Regions from separate parts of the Homo sapiens genome. Here all the other regions are linked to region 2. Evidence: promoter capture Hi-C in 16 types of primary human blood cells and fetal thymus (Javierre and others, 2016). All regions are on one chromosome and are shown on one strand. Each heading gives the region's core, a stretch centred on a gene start or on the middle of the fragment in contact. The rest is flanking DNA. Distances are from core to core; before and after follow the strand shown.

Region 1 (2,700 bases), core at 91-2,590, 730 kb before region 2:
AAGGTGAAGAATGGAGAGACAGGAAGCCTGGCCTCCAGGCACTTCTCTCCTCAGCCTAAAGTCTCCACAGACTGAAGAAGGCCCAGTGGGGCAGCTCTGGGGCTGCATCTGAGCCAGTGGTGCTTGGCGAAGAGGGCTGTGGATTCCCCAGCACCAATGAATACCCTGATCTGGAAGAGGAGAGAGCAACCTATCCACAGGAAGAGGACCGTTTTCTCACTCCTGGCAGGGCCCAGGTATTGTTGGAGTGGAACTGGGTGGAGTGAGGGAGTGATGTGGGTCTCTGGTCTTGCATGGAGATGCAGAAGCTGAGAGCCAGGCTGGAGAGCTGGATTTGAGAGAAACAAAAATAACGTAGGTGAGAACCAGAGACTTCGAGGTACCTAAGCTTGGGTACTAGGAAATCTGGAAAGAAGACCTACTTTTCCATTTTCTTTTTCAATTTCTCTCATCTTGACAGCTGCTTTGGTCTCCCTGGAGCCCCCTGGATCAGGAGGAGGCTTGTGCCTCCAGGCAGCTGCACTCTCTGGCCTCGTTCAGCACTGTCACAGCCAGAAGGAACCCCCTTCACAATCCCTGGGGGATGGAGTTGGCAGCGTCTGAAGAGTAAGGAGAAACCACCGATGCCGAGAGGCTAGTGGTGCCCCAGGGACCCAAGACTAGTTCCGTCACTAGAGTCACCCTCATTGCTGACATGAAGGCGTTTCCCCTTCCTTCGTCTCTCCAACTGCCTTTCCCATCCTCTGAACTAGGCATTAACAGCCCCCGTGGGCTCCCATCTCAACCCACCGCTCTCACAGGAGCACCCCAAGTCCTGTTTTCCTCCAGGCCCCGCTCCTGGCCTTGTATTCTCTCTGCTCTGTTATTAAAAAGCAAGCAAGTGGAGCCCGAGTTGTCTTTCTTCTTGGGATGCAGCGATGGAGAGGCCAATGGGGAAGGAGGGCTCCTTTCGCTTTCTCGAGGACCCAGCTACAATGAAGTCGGGCTGGGTCCCCAGACAAGGAGTCTTGTCCGAGGCGAGAAGGGTCCTGCTCCCAGTCCAGCGTTCCTCGCCCGGCCCCTCGGGTTCCAGCACTGGTGGGCTGCCCCCGCCCCGTTCTCTCGAACTGGGAGTCAGTCGGCCGAGCTTCCGCCTCCAGGACCCTGGAATCCTGCCCCTCAGTGCTGCTGCCCTTTTGGGGACTTCCCAGCAGTCTGTCCCTCGGCCTGGCTCAGAGCCCTAGAAGCCGAGTCCCTCTGCCCAGCGCCCCACCCAGAACTCCACGTGTGCTGACCCCAGGTTCCCTTCCTGACCCTCATCCCCTTAATTGGGAGGCCCCGCCCCGTGCGCAGTGACGTTAGACGCCGCTGTCAGCCGGCGCTGGGGGGGGTCGGTGTGGGGTAGAATGGCCGCTGCCGCCGTCACCCGCGGGACCCCGGGAGGTAAGAGCCAGGGCCTCTCGCCCGCCTCTCCGCCCCCGCGCCAGAGGGCGCAGCTCCTCCAGGTCCCGACGCGGAGCGCCGCGCCAGGGACCACCGTCCCTCTTCCCGGTTCGCCCTCACCTCCCGCTTCCGTCCTCCTCCCCCGCGCCAGGGGGCGCCGCTCACCGCAGGGCCCCACGGCGGACCAGCGCGTGCCGGGGACTGTCCCGGAGACCCCCGCACCCGGCACCTGCACTGTCCCTCGCCCACCGCGTGCCCGCGGACTCTGCTCCCGGCTTCTCCAGAACATCCCTCTATGCGGGCGGGACCCTCCCACCTCGGAGGTTCTCCTGGGACCACCACTCCGCCGGGGGGCCGCCCAGAGTGCCAAGCGTCCGATCCGGCGCCGCCCAAGTGCAGCCCAAGGACCCGCTCCCGCTCCGCACCCTGGCAGGCTGCCTAGCCAGGACTGCGCACCTGCGCCCTGGGGCGGAGTCCTTACCCCAACCCCAGCTTCACTGCACATAGCCGAGCCCGACGGGCCTCCTCCCATCTCCATCCTGGACACCTGGCGGAGCCCGTGCTGAGAGCCTCCGCCAGCTCCCATCTGTTCCCCGAGGAGGGCGGGGGGCTCAGGCTGGAGCCAGAGCGGTAGATGGGGTAGGCTAGGCCTGGAGGCCAGGGGAGGCAGAGGCGTTTGGGGAGAGGGAGCTACGTAGAGAGGGCTGTCAGCCGGAGGGTGGGTTGTCCTGAGGGTGGGAATCTGGGTGTCTGGCCCAGATTCTATCAGGTCCTAACCAACCTGGAGGAGAGAATAGGTTAGGTTCAGTTATCAGATCTGCCCTTCCCCTTGGAAAAATCAAACAGAGAAGGAACTCAGGGCGTGTCTTCTAAAGGCCTAGCTTCTACCGGAGGTAGAATCTCCTGCCCTGCCCCCAGGATCCAGGCTCTCTTGCCAAACCATCCTCCAAGGACCGGATGGCCTGAGTCCCAACCCCCAGGACCTGACCCAACCATAGCCCCAGTCTGTGCAAAAGCTCAAGGTTTAGGGCCTCTGAGGCCCAAGCCCTGCCAGTCTTCTCCCCGCTCCCCCACCCCAACCCATTTCTTCCTGCTCACTCTTCCTGTCCAGTCTGCTCACTCATATTGGCTCCGGGCACTGTGTGTTGTTCTCTCTTCTACTGTCACATCACAGTCAGCCCCTCCCTCCCTTTCCTCATCCTTCCCAGATACTATGACCCAGTTCTATACCCACTCCCTACCTCATACTTCTCATCCTGGATTAATGTGGGGGCTTCT
Region 2 (2,700 bases), core at 72-2,571:
CCCCCAAGATCTGCATCAGTCACCAAATCCCCCGGATGCTGTACACCTCTCACATCTGTGCTTTCCTCTCTCCCTCGTTCCATTAGTACATAGTTCTCAACCTGGAGAACCCTGCACAGTACAGTTAACCTGGGAGTTTTTTCTTTTTTTGAGATGGAGTCTCGCTCTATTGCCCAGGCTGGAGTGCAGTGGTGCGATCTCAGCTCACTGCAGGCTCCACCTCCCGGGTTCACGCCGTTCTCCTGCCTCCGCCTCCTGAGTAGCTGGGACTACAGGCGCCCGCCACTGCGCCTGGCTAATTTTTTGTATTTTTAATAGAGACGGGGTTTCACTCTGTTAGCCAGGATGGTCTCGATCTCCTCAGTTCGTAATCCGCCCGCCTTGGCCTCCCAAAGTGCTGGGATTACAGGCATGAGCCACCGCGCCTGGCCACCTGGGAGCTTTTAAACATCCATATTTGTGGGCTGGGCGTGGTGCCTCACACCTGTAATCCCAGCACTTTGGGAGGCCGAGGCGGGCAGGTCACAAGATCAGGAGTTTGAGACTAGCCTGAGCAACATGGTGAAACCCCGTCTCTACTAAAAATACAAAAATTAGCCAGGCTTGGTGGTGCACTCCTGTAATCCTAGCTATTCGGGAGGCTGAGGCAGAAGAATTGCTTGAACCTGGGAAGCGGAGGTTGCAGTGAGCTGAGATCGCGCCATTGCACTCCAGCTTGGGCGACAAGAGTGAGACTCCGTTTCAAAAGAAAAAAAAAAAAGAAAAGTAGTAGTGGTGGTAATTAATCACCAGTGAAGAGCTTTTCTAATCTGATGCCAAGGAAGATAGTATTTTCTGGGAAGCTGACACTTTAATGAAATATTTTTTTGTGGAAGATCCTAATATAAGCCTGGAACAAAAAATTATTCTTGTAGTTCTCCAAATAGAATGTTATCACAGCCTTTACAATCATTTCTCTTTTATCTAATGGACATAGTTAAAGCAGAATAGGTATAAAGTCATTTAGTCATTAAAGAATTACATGAAGAGACTGGGCACGGTGGCTTATGCCTGTAATCCCAGCACTTTGGGAGGCCGAGGCCAGGGGATCACCTCAGGTCAGGAGTTCAAGACCAGCCTGGCCAACATGGCGAAATCCTGTCTCTGCTAAGAATACAAAAAAATTAGCTGGGCATGGTGGCAGGCGCCTGTAATCTCAGCTGCTTCAGGAGGCTGAGGCAGGAGGATTGCTTGAACCCGGGAGGCAGAGGTTGCCATGAGCCAAGATCACACCATTGCACTCCAGTCTGGGCGACAAGAGAAACTCTTGTCTCAAAAAAAAAAAAAAAAAAAAAGAATTACATGAAGAACACTAATTCATTGCTAAAGTTTTGGCTAGAATAGAAGAACTATAGGAGTGTAGAGAAAGGAAATGCCAGGGTGATGTGAATCTAGAAAGACTGAATACAGTGTGGGTTAGAACTGGAGTGGCTGGAGGGGAGTAGAGTGCATTTACTATAGGAAATGAAGGAGCTCATTTAATTCCTGGATTAATTAATGACTAATCTTGGTGTTCTGATACTGGAGCTGAAATCTGGCATCATGGTGTTAATGGGATGCGTTCTGGCTTAAGACCACAAATCTTGAGTCTGTCTTCTGCTAATTGTGTGATTTTAGGCAACTCACTTAAGTGAGTTTCACTGTTAGTATATTACTTTTTCAATATAGTTAGAATCTGAGATGATGAATGTGAAGAACTTAACTGCCATAGGAGACATAAAAAATATTAATTCCCACTTTCTGTCTTATTGCAAAATATTACAGGAAAGTGTACATTTCCTTTTACTCCATAGAATGATGTTGACACTAATCTAGCAAAAAGTTACTAGGGCATTAAAATCTTTTACTATACAGAATTTTTTGTTTGTAAGTATAGGTGTTTTAGTTTCATGTGGCTGCTGTAACAGATTTCCACAAGCTAGATGGCTTAAAACAACAGAAACGTGTTCTTATGATTCTGGATGACAGAAGTCTGATTGAAATCAGTATCACTGGGCTCAAATCAAGGTCTCAGTAGGGCCCTATTCCCTCTGGAGGCTCTAGGAGAAAATCTTTTTCCTGATTCTTCCACCTGCAAGAGGCTGCTGACATTCCTTGGCTATTGGCTGCATCATTCCAGTCTTCAAGGACAGCATCTTCAAATTTCTCTCTGTTCTGTGTTCACAAGACCTACTCTGAGTGGGTCAGACTCCCTCTGTGCCTTCCTTTTTTTTTTTTTTTTTTTTTTTTTTTTTTGAGATGGAGTCTCACTCTGTGGTCCAGGCTGGAGTGCAGTGGTGCGATCTTGGCTCATTGCAACCTCCGCCTCCCAGGTTCAGGCGATTCTCCTGCCTCAGCCTCCCGAGTAGCTGGGACTACAGGCGCCTGCCACCACACCTGGCTAATTTTTGTATTTTTAGTAGAGATGGGGTTTCACCGTGTTAGCCGGGATGGTCTTGATCTCCTGACCTCGTGATCTGCCTACCTTGGCTTCTCAAAGTGCTGGGATTACAGGCGTGAGCCACCGCGGCCAGCCCCTGCTCCCTCTTACAAGGATACATGAACAGTTACGTGCTGCATAATGATGTTTTGGTCAATGCAGAGACACTTAGTTGTTGTTGTTGTTGTCATATAAGGTAACATTCCCAGGTTCCAGGGATTAGGATATTAGTATCTTATGGG
Region 3 (2,700 bases), core at 159-2,658, 580 kb before region 2:
CTTGGCCTGGTGAGAGCGCTGGAAGGGCACAGGATCAAAACACCACCTGGCTGATAGTCTGGAGTGTTCACCTTGAAATCACTAAGTTGCCCCTTAAGCCAAAGCTCCCTGCCGAAGAAAAACATAAATGCTACAGAAAGCTCTTCCACCAGAGTGTGTAAGTGCCCCACAAGGGACAATGAACGGGTATTTCCAAGAAATTCCTGCAGCATTTGCTTCCTCTCAACCCCTTTCCTTATTAGCCCCTACCTTGAGAGGTCTCCATTGCTTCCAGCCTTTAGCTAACATAAACACCCACTGCCTTTCCAAACCTTCAGCCTGACCACATGTAGCATGTGTCGTGTGTGCGCGTGTGTGTGTGTGTAAACATCCTCTTCCCAGCCCGTGCTACAGTTTCCAAAGAGAAGAAATGCCTCCCCTCCTCCCCGAGGGCTCCCAGCCCCACGCTGCTGCAGAGTTGGTCATGTAATATTCAGGGACCCTGAGACCGGAAATGCCTGGTTCTGAACTGCTGCACTTGAAACAGGAGAGAAGGGATAGGGAAAACTGAACATGGGATTGAGGGTGACGGCACGAGGGGTGGGGTAGCTGAAATTCCGACCAGGGAAAGGATGCAATTCAAGGGTGGGCGAGGCAGAGAAAGAGGGATGAGAGAGAGGCTGTCGAGACAGTTGCAAAGTCAAAATTCCAGGAGCTGAGGAAGAGGAGGGGAAGGAAGAAGATAGAAGTAAGGGCAAAGGTGGAAAAGGGCCGAAAGGAGGTAAGGAACCACAATAAAGGTTCTCCAGGTGATGGGGGAGGCTAAGTTTAGGCGAACCAGTGGGTCCCGAACCCCAGAGTAAAGGTAGGGTGGCACGGAAGTGTGGGGGCGGGGCACCACAGGGTGGGGACCGAACTGGCTCCCAGCATCTGCAGCCAGTGGAGAGAGAAGGGAGCAGAGGGCGGGGGCCCAGCCGCGGCGGGAGTCCGGGAAAGGGGCACGGGTCGCCAAGGGGACCCAAGCTGGTGGAGGGGGCGCCCGGGAGCACGTGAGGCGTGCAGCCACCCCGCTCCCTCCCCTGCGGCGGGGACAGGAACCAGGGCGAGGCTGGGGGACGGCGCGCTCACCCGCAGGGCGGACAGGTCGATGTCGTCCAGGCTGCGGGCGGGGGCTGGGTCGCCCATGGCCTCCGTGGGGAACGGGGCACCGGGGCCGCTCACGCTCCGGCTCGGTTACTCCACTGCCGCCGTCGCCGCTTCTCCCCCATCGGAGAACCCCGGGGGCGGACTCCACCGCGCCTCCCCCGGAGACCGGGGAGGGGGAGGGCCGGCGCGAGGACCGACCCACCGACTGACAGGCGCTATCTCCCCGGAGCCAGCCACCCGAGCCTACCACCTCTCCTGCGCAGGCGCGGAGCGACCGCGCACTGGGAGGGTGGAAGCGCGAGCGTGACGCGAGCGCGCCGGGGCCCCCTCCCCCTAGGCGCCGACACCTGCGCGCAGGCGCAGGCGAGCAGGCGAAAGGCGCGCGCGAGGACGGAGCGACCGCGCGAGCCTGGCGTGAAAGAAGTGGGCGGCGGCCGAGGCGGCCGCGGAGCGCGCCCACCAGCTGGTGCGCGTGCGCACACGCGTTTCCTTTTCTTTCCCTATTTTTTTTGCCCTTTCTCTCCCTTATTTCCTTCTCAGATCTCCTTTGACGCCTTTCCTTCCCTTTCCCTCCTTCTTTCGTGTGCCCAGCTGCCAATCAAGCCACCCACCTTTCCATTTGCGGGGGAAGGGGGCGGTACCCAACCCCCTCTATTACTAGGGGGTTGTTATGGTAACTCCCCACGCGAGGGCTGGGTGGCCTCTAGATAGGACGGGCTGTCCACCCACCCAATTGCTATGGCAACAGTGGAGCCGCTGAGGGAGGGGCCACTCCGTGAGAACTTGGCTGGAGAAACCACGTGGGAGTTGGGGGGCAGAGGAGGGGCACCGGCTGCCTCAGGAATGCCCTTTCCACCCTCACCTAGCAGGTTGGGGAAGCATCGAGGTGCTCTCAGATCTCAGGATAAGGAATCCTACCGCAGACGTGTATCTCTGCACCTCTTTTAACAAAGTGTTCTGCACAAAGGAACTGTTTCCACAATTATTCATTGATCACTGGAGTCGCGCGTGGAGGAAGGGGTGGCGAAGGGGAAGAGAGGGAATCTGCGTTCAGTCCCTTAAAATATAGCTTGGGTCACCTTAGATCTAGTCATGTTGGCATAGCGCCTACAGCCATTAGCCTCAGTGGAGGCTGGGTAATGCTATCTAAGAACCACGAGTCATGTTCTACCACTGAAATGCTGTGTGACCTTGAGCAAGTTGCTTTGCTTCTCTGAGGTTTTCTTTCACTGTGAAATTGAGGGGGGAGGCTGTATGATCCTCAAGAGCTCTTCTAGCACCAACACTGCCTCTGAAAGACTCCACCACCAGCCTTAATATAAACATCATTTAAGAGAGTTTAATTTAGAAGTCCTTGAAAAATAGCTGAACACATTCCTTTCTGGACCGTTTTTAGCATTTGGGTGCACAGCCAGTCGGCCCCCTTCCCTAACCCCTAGCCCATTTTCCTTGCCACTGCCCTTATTCAAGCCGCTATCCCCATTCATCTCCTATTTGGCCTTCCGGCCTGACTCCTTCAAGTCAATTCTATTTTTTTTTTTTTTTTTTTTTTTTTGAGACAGAGTCTCACTCTGT

The links. The method cuts DNA at HindIII sites, captures the fragments that hold promoters and counts their contacts. A CHiCAGO score of 5 or more calls a contact.
Region 1: the fragment with the promoter of CAMTA2 here is called in contact with a fragment that was not itself captured in region 2 in 1 of 17 cell types (neutrophils); the score reaches 6.4 in neutrophils.
Region 3: the fragment with the promoter of MINK1 here is called in contact with a fragment that was not itself captured in region 2 in 1 of 17 cell types (neutrophils); the score reaches 5.0 in neutrophils.

What each region holds. Positions count from the first base shown.
Region 1 is chr17:4,986,315-4,989,014 of GRCh38, reverse strand. It overlaps CAMTA2 (calmodulin binding transcription activator 2), which reads left to right and starts at 1,340. Exons shown (of 23, transcript NM_015099.4): 1 at 1,340-1,422. INCA1 (inhibitor of CDK, cyclin A1 interacting protein 1) reads left to right here. Exons shown (of 7, transcript NM_001394789.1): 6 at 71-236; 7 at 461-885. The coding sequence ends at 610. It overlaps CAMTA2-AS1 (CAMTA2 antisense RNA 1), which reads right to left and starts at 1,271. Exons shown (of 3, transcript NR_187235.1): 1 at 790-1,271; 2 at 423-599; 3 at 1-328. RefSeq lists a silencer at 1,321-1,860. The HindIII fragment of the contact is 15,391 bases long and covers 391-2,700 here.
Region 2 is chr17:4,253,878-4,256,577 of GRCh38, reverse strand. The region is part of intron 1 of ANKFY1 (ankyrin repeat and FYVE domain containing 1); the gene reads left to right. Among named protein-coding and RNA genes, the nearest start is that of ANKFY1, 8.8 kb to the left of the region's middle. The HindIII fragment of the contact is 4,992 bases long and covers 1-2,700 here.
Region 3 is chr17:4,832,048-4,834,747 of GRCh38, reverse strand. It overlaps MINK1 (misshapen like kinase 1), which reads right to left and starts at 1,408. Exons shown (of 32, transcript NM_153827.5): 1 at 1,108-1,408. The coding sequence starts at 1,164. RefSeq lists silencers at 858-1,107, 1,118-1,587 and an enhancer at 1,565-2,351. The HindIII fragment of the contact is 4,876 bases long and covers 1-2,700 here.